2 separate regions of the Homo sapiens genome follow, and region 2 is linked to region 1. Evidence: promoter capture Hi-C in human tissues and cell types (Jung and others, 2019). All regions are on one chromosome and are shown on one strand. Each heading gives the region's core, a stretch centred on a gene start or on the middle of the fragment in contact. The rest is flanking DNA. Distances are from core to core; before and after follow the strand shown.

Evidence for each region. Contacts are between HindIII fragments. The study calls those that stand out against the background at their distance.
Region 2: a contact is called between a fragment that was not itself captured here and the fragment with the promoter of ZNF714 in region 1, in 1 of the 25 tissues and cell types used here (hippocampus).

The regions. Positions count from the first base shown.
Region 1 is chr19:21,080,446-21,084,183 of GRCh38, forward strand. ZNF714 (zinc finger protein 714) reads left to right here and starts at 1,758. Exons shown (of 5, transcript NM_182515.4): 1 at 1,758-1,903; 2 at 3,533-3,624. RefSeq lists an enhancer at 2,097-2,246. The HindIII fragment of the contact is 9,806 bases long and covers 1-3,400 here.
Region 2 is chr19:22,091,085-22,094,822 of GRCh38, forward strand. ZNF257 (zinc finger protein 257) reads left to right here. Exons shown (of 4, transcript NM_033468.4): 4 at 1-396. Among named protein-coding and RNA genes, the nearest start is that of ZNF257, 40 kb to the left of the region's middle. The HindIII fragment of the contact is 8,109 bases long and covers 1-3,738 here.

The DNA of each region.
Region 1 (3,738 bases), core at 508-3,007:
TCTCCTGCCTCGGCCCCCCGAGTAGCTGGGAATACAGGCGTGCGGCATCACACCCAGGTAAGTTTTTGTATTTTTGGTAGAGACAGGGTTTCACCTTGTTAGCCAGGATGGTCTCGGACTCCTGACCTCTTGATCCACCCACCTCGGACTCCCAAAGTGCTGGGATTGCAGGCGTGAGCCACCGTGCCTGGGCGATTCTATTTTATTCGTTGATCTTTTGTGGTGCTTTTACAATTTTACATCTACATATTATAAATCCAGTAACAAAGAGTCATAATTGTTGCTTTTAATAGTGATAGGTTGCTTTAAAACTGAAGGGTACAATTTAGTCAGATACTTTGGTGCTATGCAAATACAATGCTTATTTTTTAAGTGTTATTTACAATTTTTACACTCCTCAGTTAACCTTGGATACAATAATAACTGGTGGTTTTGTGATGGTTTCTTTAGCATTTTATCTATGTTGATTAGTATTTGGAATTCTGTAAAAAAAAATTTCCCTATCCTTTTTTCTTTTTTATTTATTTAAAGTTTTTTGTGTATCAGTGTAAATGCATGGGTATTTATTTATTTGACTTGATTTATTTTATAGGTCAGTGCTCTAATTATTCATTTGGATGCTAACATTGTTCCAGGATGGACCATTGGGAGTTCTTTCAGGCTGGCTCCCTTTGACATGTTCCCATCATTTTTTAAAATTAAAAAAAAAGAAAGAAAAAACATTTTGAGGCTGGGTGCGGTGGCTCACGCCTGTAATCCCAACACTTTGGGAGGCCAAAGCGGGCAGATCACCTGAGGTCAGGAGTTCAGGACCAGCCTGGCCAACATGGTGAAACCCCGTGTCTACTAAAAATACAAAAAATTAGCCGAGCATGGTGGCGCGCGCCTGTGATCTCATCCAGCAGTGCTTTACTTGTAATTATTTTATTCCTGCTGCCGTCTCCTCTTTCTTTGGCCACTATCTGTTCCACCCCCGGAACGGAAGAGAGATGTTGGTAGGGAGAGGCTCTTCCTTCACCTCTGGCAGAAAAGGTTTGCTTGGGCCCTTCACACCGCTGACATCAGAGCTGCACTTCAATGTGGCAGTTATTGGCCATGTGTGGCGCCTGGTCTGAAGTGCGATGCTAGAAAGGTAAAATACAGAGTTAGTTTCAAAGATTTAGTTCCAAATATTTATATACTTTATTAATAATTACATATTTCTCACACATTAAAATGAAAATTTTTTTGATATATTGGGTTAATTAAATTGTTACAATCAATTCAACCTGTTCTTGTTTCTTTTTCAAGTTTGGCTACTAGAAAACTTAAAATTCACATATGGCTCACATTTTATTTCAGAGGATTACCTCCTTTCTAAAATCTCAGCCTGCCTGCTCAAAGACCAGAAAGAAGCCAGGAAGGTCATAAAATCTGAAATTTTAAAATAATTGTTATTATAAAATTATATTTTTTCCTTTGTGAAGAGCCATATATTATTTATAAATGCATATGACTTTACACACAAGTTTAAAGGCAAATTCCCTCTGGGGTGGGCCTGGCTCAGCTCTGGGAGGAAGCCCTGCCTGAGAAGGCTGCAGCCTAGGCTGTCACCCTTTCTTCACTCAGCCCAGCAACTGATCACATCTTCTGTCACTCAGGGCACGAGAAGGTGGGGTTTTAAAAGTTATCCAATCAGCGACGCTGGGTTGGGAACCGTCCAATCAGGCCTGCAGCTGGAGCGGACAGGACGGCTTCGGGGATGTGGCGGGGCCTTTGTCTCTCGCTGCAGCTGGAGCTGCAGGTCTCGCCTTCACTGCCCTGTGTCCTCTGCTCGCAGAGGCCCAGCCTCTGTGGCCCTGTGACCTGCAGGTATTGAGAGATCCACAGCTAAGACGCCAGGTACCCCGGAAGCCTAGAAATGGTGAGAGTGCCGGGTCCGACATCCCGAGAGAGGGGAAGGGGCGGGTTGTAAGCGGTGGGAAGTGGCTGTGGTGGGACTTAGGCCTCCCCGCAGTCAACTCTACAATCTGCGCCCGGAGTTCTCCTTGCTCAGCTCGGCCTCAGTCCCCTTCAGCCATAAGATGGCGGCTGCGCTGACTGCGGGATCCCGGGCGTCCTGTCTTTTCCCTGCGCAGTGACTGGGCCCTGACCTGGAGTCCTCTCAGGGCAGCTCTGGACCCTCAGCGGCGCGTCTCTCCCGGATTGTGCAGGGACCACTGGAGGGTCCCAGGGGTAGAATCCTGACTCGGGGTGCGGGTTTATGAATGGGTCCGTGGGGTTCCAGTTCCTCTTCTGTTGAAAATGTATGGGAGTCACCGTTAAAACACTAAAGCATTTAATCAAAGCGTGATTCAAAAATTGTGGAGCACCCAGCTGTGGTTTGTAATTTATGGTTTATGGGCGGGGCTTGAAGTAAAGACTTTTATAAACAGCATGATGAAGAAAACCAAATTCAGTAATTGGTTAGGTTCAGATACATAGTTTCTTAATTTGTAAAATAAAGGTGAAAATTTCCTGGTTATGTAATTAGATGTTAATTGGCAGTTTATAGTTGGTTAAGGATGAATTTTGTTTCTCTCAATGTAGTAATTTACTAAAAATGCACCTCAGTTAGATTTTTTTTTTTTAAGATGGAGTTTCGCTCTTGTTGCCCAGGCTGGAGTGCAATGGGGCGATCTTGTCTCACCGTAACCTCTGCCTCCCGGGTTCAAGCGATCCAATGCTTCAGCCTCCCAGGTAGCTGGGATTACAGGCATGCGCCACCACGCCCGTCTAATTTTGTGGTTTTAGTAGAGACGGGTTTCTGCATGTTGGTCAGGCTGGTCTCGAACTCCCGACCTCAGGTGATCTGCCCTCCACGGCCTCCCCAAAGTGCTGGGATTACAGGCGTGAGCCACCGCGCCCAGCCAGATTTTTTTAAAAGTAGGAATCCAGGGACTAGAGACACCTCAGTCTAATTTCCCGCCGCTTAATTATTTTCACACTCCATGGGGAACTGATTTTCTGGTGCATTTTTCAACTGTGTCCCAAGCACTGTCTTAAATCTAACCTCCCGTCCCCCATATCTCCAGCCTCACTCTGGCTTGCAGTAAGATATTAAATTTCCAGTTCCTCCTGGCATTCCCTAATGCCAGCTTTTCCTCCCTAATTCACGTTATCACCTGTTTGTCTTTTAGTGTACTTTTGTATACCATATTTTAATTAATTATTTTTTGACAAAGCTTTAAATGACGCTTTTTAAAAGGTTTGTTACCTGTTTGTAACTTTCCCATGAGAAGAAAGCAAAGAATAATCCCCTGACACTGTATTGTAAAATTTCTCTGTGCCTCTTCTCCTTGTATCTTCTCTAGGTACAAAGATCTTGTCAGAATGTTTTTGGGTCAAGGTATTCCTTTGAAACCTTTATGAGGTGATGTGTCCTCAGCCACCCTTTAGTTTTTTTCTGGTCGTGGGTTTCAGTACTGTCTGGGGATCAACCAAGATATCCACCATGGTTATGTCAGCTAAAGTGCCTAGTGAATATCAGCTTCTGGTTTATTTTCTTCCATAGGGCGACCTGAGGTCTGGAGTGTATCCTCTCAAGGGAGCAAGTGGATCCCTGGGGCAGAGAGGAAGCTTCTAGTGTACTCTTACTTTGAAAAGGTAATCAGATGCTGGTACTGAGGGGAAAACACAGAAATAACATCTGCCTCCTGGATTGTCTAAGGGGTAGAAATATAATGAAATAAATGTAGTGAAAGAAAAAATAGTGTTAAA
Region 2 (3,738 bases), core at 352-2,851, 1.0 Mb after region 1:
AATGCAGTACATTTTAAAATTTTTAGATTATTTGTGGACTTAATTTATAATTAAATATTTTCTTTTACCACGTTAAGACTATTGTACGTTCAGGCCGGGCACAGTAGCTCACGCCTGTAATCCCAACACTTTGGGAGGCTGAGGCGGGCGGATCAATTGAGGCCAGGAGTTTGAAACCAGCCTGGCCAACATGGTGAAACCCTGTCTCTACTGAAAATACAAAAAATTAGCCAGGCATGGTGGTGGGTGCCTGAAATCCCAGCTATTTGGGAGATTGAGGCAAGAGAATCACGTGTACCCAGGAGGCAGAGGTTGCAGTGAGCCAAGATCACGACATTGCACTCCAGCCTAGGCAACAAGAGCAAGACTTCGTCTCAAAAAAAAAAAAAAAAAAAAGACTTGTGCATTCAGTGGAGTATTATTATTCCACTAACTTTAACATACCCCACCTTACTCAAGGGTGTAGGTAAAATATGGTAACAATATGCTATTTGGCAACATAGTGGAATAACACCTCTAGTAATCTCTTCTGCCAATGGCTTCAAATTGCAAATAAGTTAAAAAATATTTTTCCCATAGGTTACATTTTTATCCTTTTTTTCTTAAATTTATTCTTTTTAATTTTGTGGTTACACAGTATGTGTATATATTTATGCCATATATGGCATATTTTGGTACAGGCATATAATATATAATAGTTACATCAGGATAAATGAGGCATCCATCACCTCTAGCATTTATCCTTTTTATTACAAACAATTTGATTAGTAAAATAAAAATATTGTTATTTTAAAATATTAAAAGTACTTTATTTTAAAATTTGCAATTGTTCTGACTACAGGGTCATTTTTATGGTCATAATAAAATTTATATAGAAGTATAAATAAAATTGATACATTTCTAAGTACTGAATAAATATTTAAAGAATTTGTTACATATTTTTCTTTGAACATGATTTATCTCTGCCTGCAAACACATATAGGCTTTTAGTTTTGATTTACATAGAGTTAAACATATACATATATTACTCTAAAGATAAACCTTAGGTGTAAGAAAATTATGAAGTAAGTGTGTATGAGTATGAGTTTGTACCCATTTTTGGAAGGAGAAAGCAATATTGGAACAAAACAAATTATTTTAATAAGGTGACTTATTAGAAAACTAAAAACCTCGAAAATGTTGAAAGCAAATCTATACTCTGTGCATTGTATTGAATTCATTGCTATAAAATGTTAGGGCTTATAGTTCAGAATCTCCCTATGCACATTCTCTGTTTTTACTTGTCTGGTACTCATGCTAGACCCATAATGTTCTTGTTTTGTATTTTATGAAGTACTCATTATGTGAGCTGGTCAGGGATTATAAGAATGATTTTTATGAAATTTAAGAGTGCACACAAAATAATTTTTAGATGTAATTACAAAATTAGTTATATTTTTATATAAGTTAGTTTTTATATAATAGTTATATTGTTATATTTTAACGTTTGATTTTTGTTTTATTGGAGAAACCTGTATAAGGCTAATTTTCTTTATTGTTTCTTTCACTTTTTATAATTGACATAAGTAAATCTATTGAGTGAGCTAATTTGCTTTGGTAAGTACTAGGGAGACTTCATAAGTCATGAGGATGTTTTTACATATAAATGTAGCAAACAAATATGACAGTTCTTCTGAGTAAAACATGCTTTATAATAAGTCATAAATATTTTTGCTGGAGTTAGTTTGTAACTTCAAGTCAGAGATGGAAAATAGCAATGGTGAAGAAATAACATTGATTCATCATGTGGAGAGGACATTTTCAGGCTGCAAAGCTGACTTGCTGAATTTAAACACAAATTCTGCTGCTTTTATTTTCTACTGATCTTCAGTTTTGTCTTACTTAGTGTATTCCAACTATATATGCATCACAGTCTTTCTTCTTTTACTGTGTTATGACTACAGTTTTCTCATTGTTGTCTTCATGCCATGTCATTTTACATGGTAGTTTGTGGGTTCTCATGAGAAAGTTGGTATTTTTAATGCATTGAAAAATTGGTTTTAACTGAAGAATTTGCTTATCAATAAAACTTTCAGATTAGTCAATTAAGAGAATAGACATACACTGTTAACAAGTGAAAAGATTACATCAGTTAGCTTTTTCTTTGTAAAAAAAAAAAGTTTTATTCTTGCAAAAAGCATGGCAAATATAAAATTTGTAAAAATATTTCAGAAATTAGATTCTAAATAGAGTTAATGGTAAATGAACAATTTTAAATTTAATTTTCTATGATATATTTATAGCACAACTTATGTTTCTATGCAGAATCTTTTTTTTTTTCTTTTTTTGAGACAGAGTTTCACTCTCTCTCCCAGGCTGGAGTGAAGTGGCCCAATGTCGGCTCACTGTGACCTCCATCCCCCAGATTCCAGCGATTCTCCTACCTCAGCCTCCCAAGTAGCTGGAATTACACCACGCCCAGCTAATTTTTGTATTTTTAGTAGATATGGGGTTTCGCCATGTTGGCCAGGTTAGTCTCAAACTCCTGACCTCAGGTGATCCACCCGCCTCGGCCTCCCAAAGTGCTGAGATTATAGGCGTGAGCCACTGTGACTGGCAGAATCTTATATTTTTAAGTGTGAATGTTGAATGTGGCAAAACAGTACAATGACCTGTGGATCTGAAATTTGGAATAATATTTATTTTACATCTTGATAAAACAATTTGGAGAAATTCCACTCTTTTTTTTTTTTTTGAGATGGAGTCTCGTTCCGTCACCCAGGCTGGAGTGCACTGGCATGATATCAACTCACTGCCACCTCCTCCTCCCAGGTTCAAGCGATTCTCCTGCTTCAGCCTCCTGAGTAGTTGGGATTACAGGTGCACACCACCATGCCCGGCTAACTTTTGTATTTTTAGTAGAGACGGGGTTTCACCATGTTGGTCAGGCTGGTCTCAAACTCCGGACCTTGAGATCCGCCTCGGCCTCCCAAAGTACTGGGATTACAGGCATGAGCCACTGCGCTCAGCCCATATTCTTTTATATGACTTTTTTTTAGTAGGTACAGTTTAGTCTACAGATTTTTACTCACCTAACTGTAGCCAACTCCTTGATCATTGGTAAGTGACTGATTAGTAATTCCAAACTATTGACCGGATGCAGTGGCTCATACCTGTAATCTTAGCACTTTGGGAGGCCAAGGCAGGTGGATTGCCTGAGGCCAGGAGTTCGAGACTAGCCTGGCCAACATGGTGAAACCCTGTCTCTACTGAAAATACAAAAATTAGCTGGGCATGGTGGCGAGCGCCTGTAATCCCAGCTACTCGGGAGGCTGAGGCAGGAGAATCACTTGCACCTGGGAGGTGGAGGTTGCAGTGAGCCAAGATCGCGCCACTGCACTCCAGCCTGGGCAACAAGACTGAAACTCCATCTCAAAAAAAAAATAAGTAAATACAATTTTTTAAAAATAAAAAAAGTAATTCCAGACTATTTTAGTCACTGTAAAAACTTAATATTCTTTAATTATTAAATAGGAAAAAGTATTCTGATATTAGTGTTTCTGAAACTTTCAGAAAGTGTAAACCAGTAAAAAAATGATCAGGTATATGCAGACCATAAGTTTTCTATTTAATCATAGGCTCATTCTAGCTTTTAATATAAAAATTTGATAAAAGGTAAAATGAGTGGTTCTTTTAAATAATAAGAGAAATATCATTGTTAGTAGCCATTTACCAATGTATTTTTGTTAGGCTTAGTAA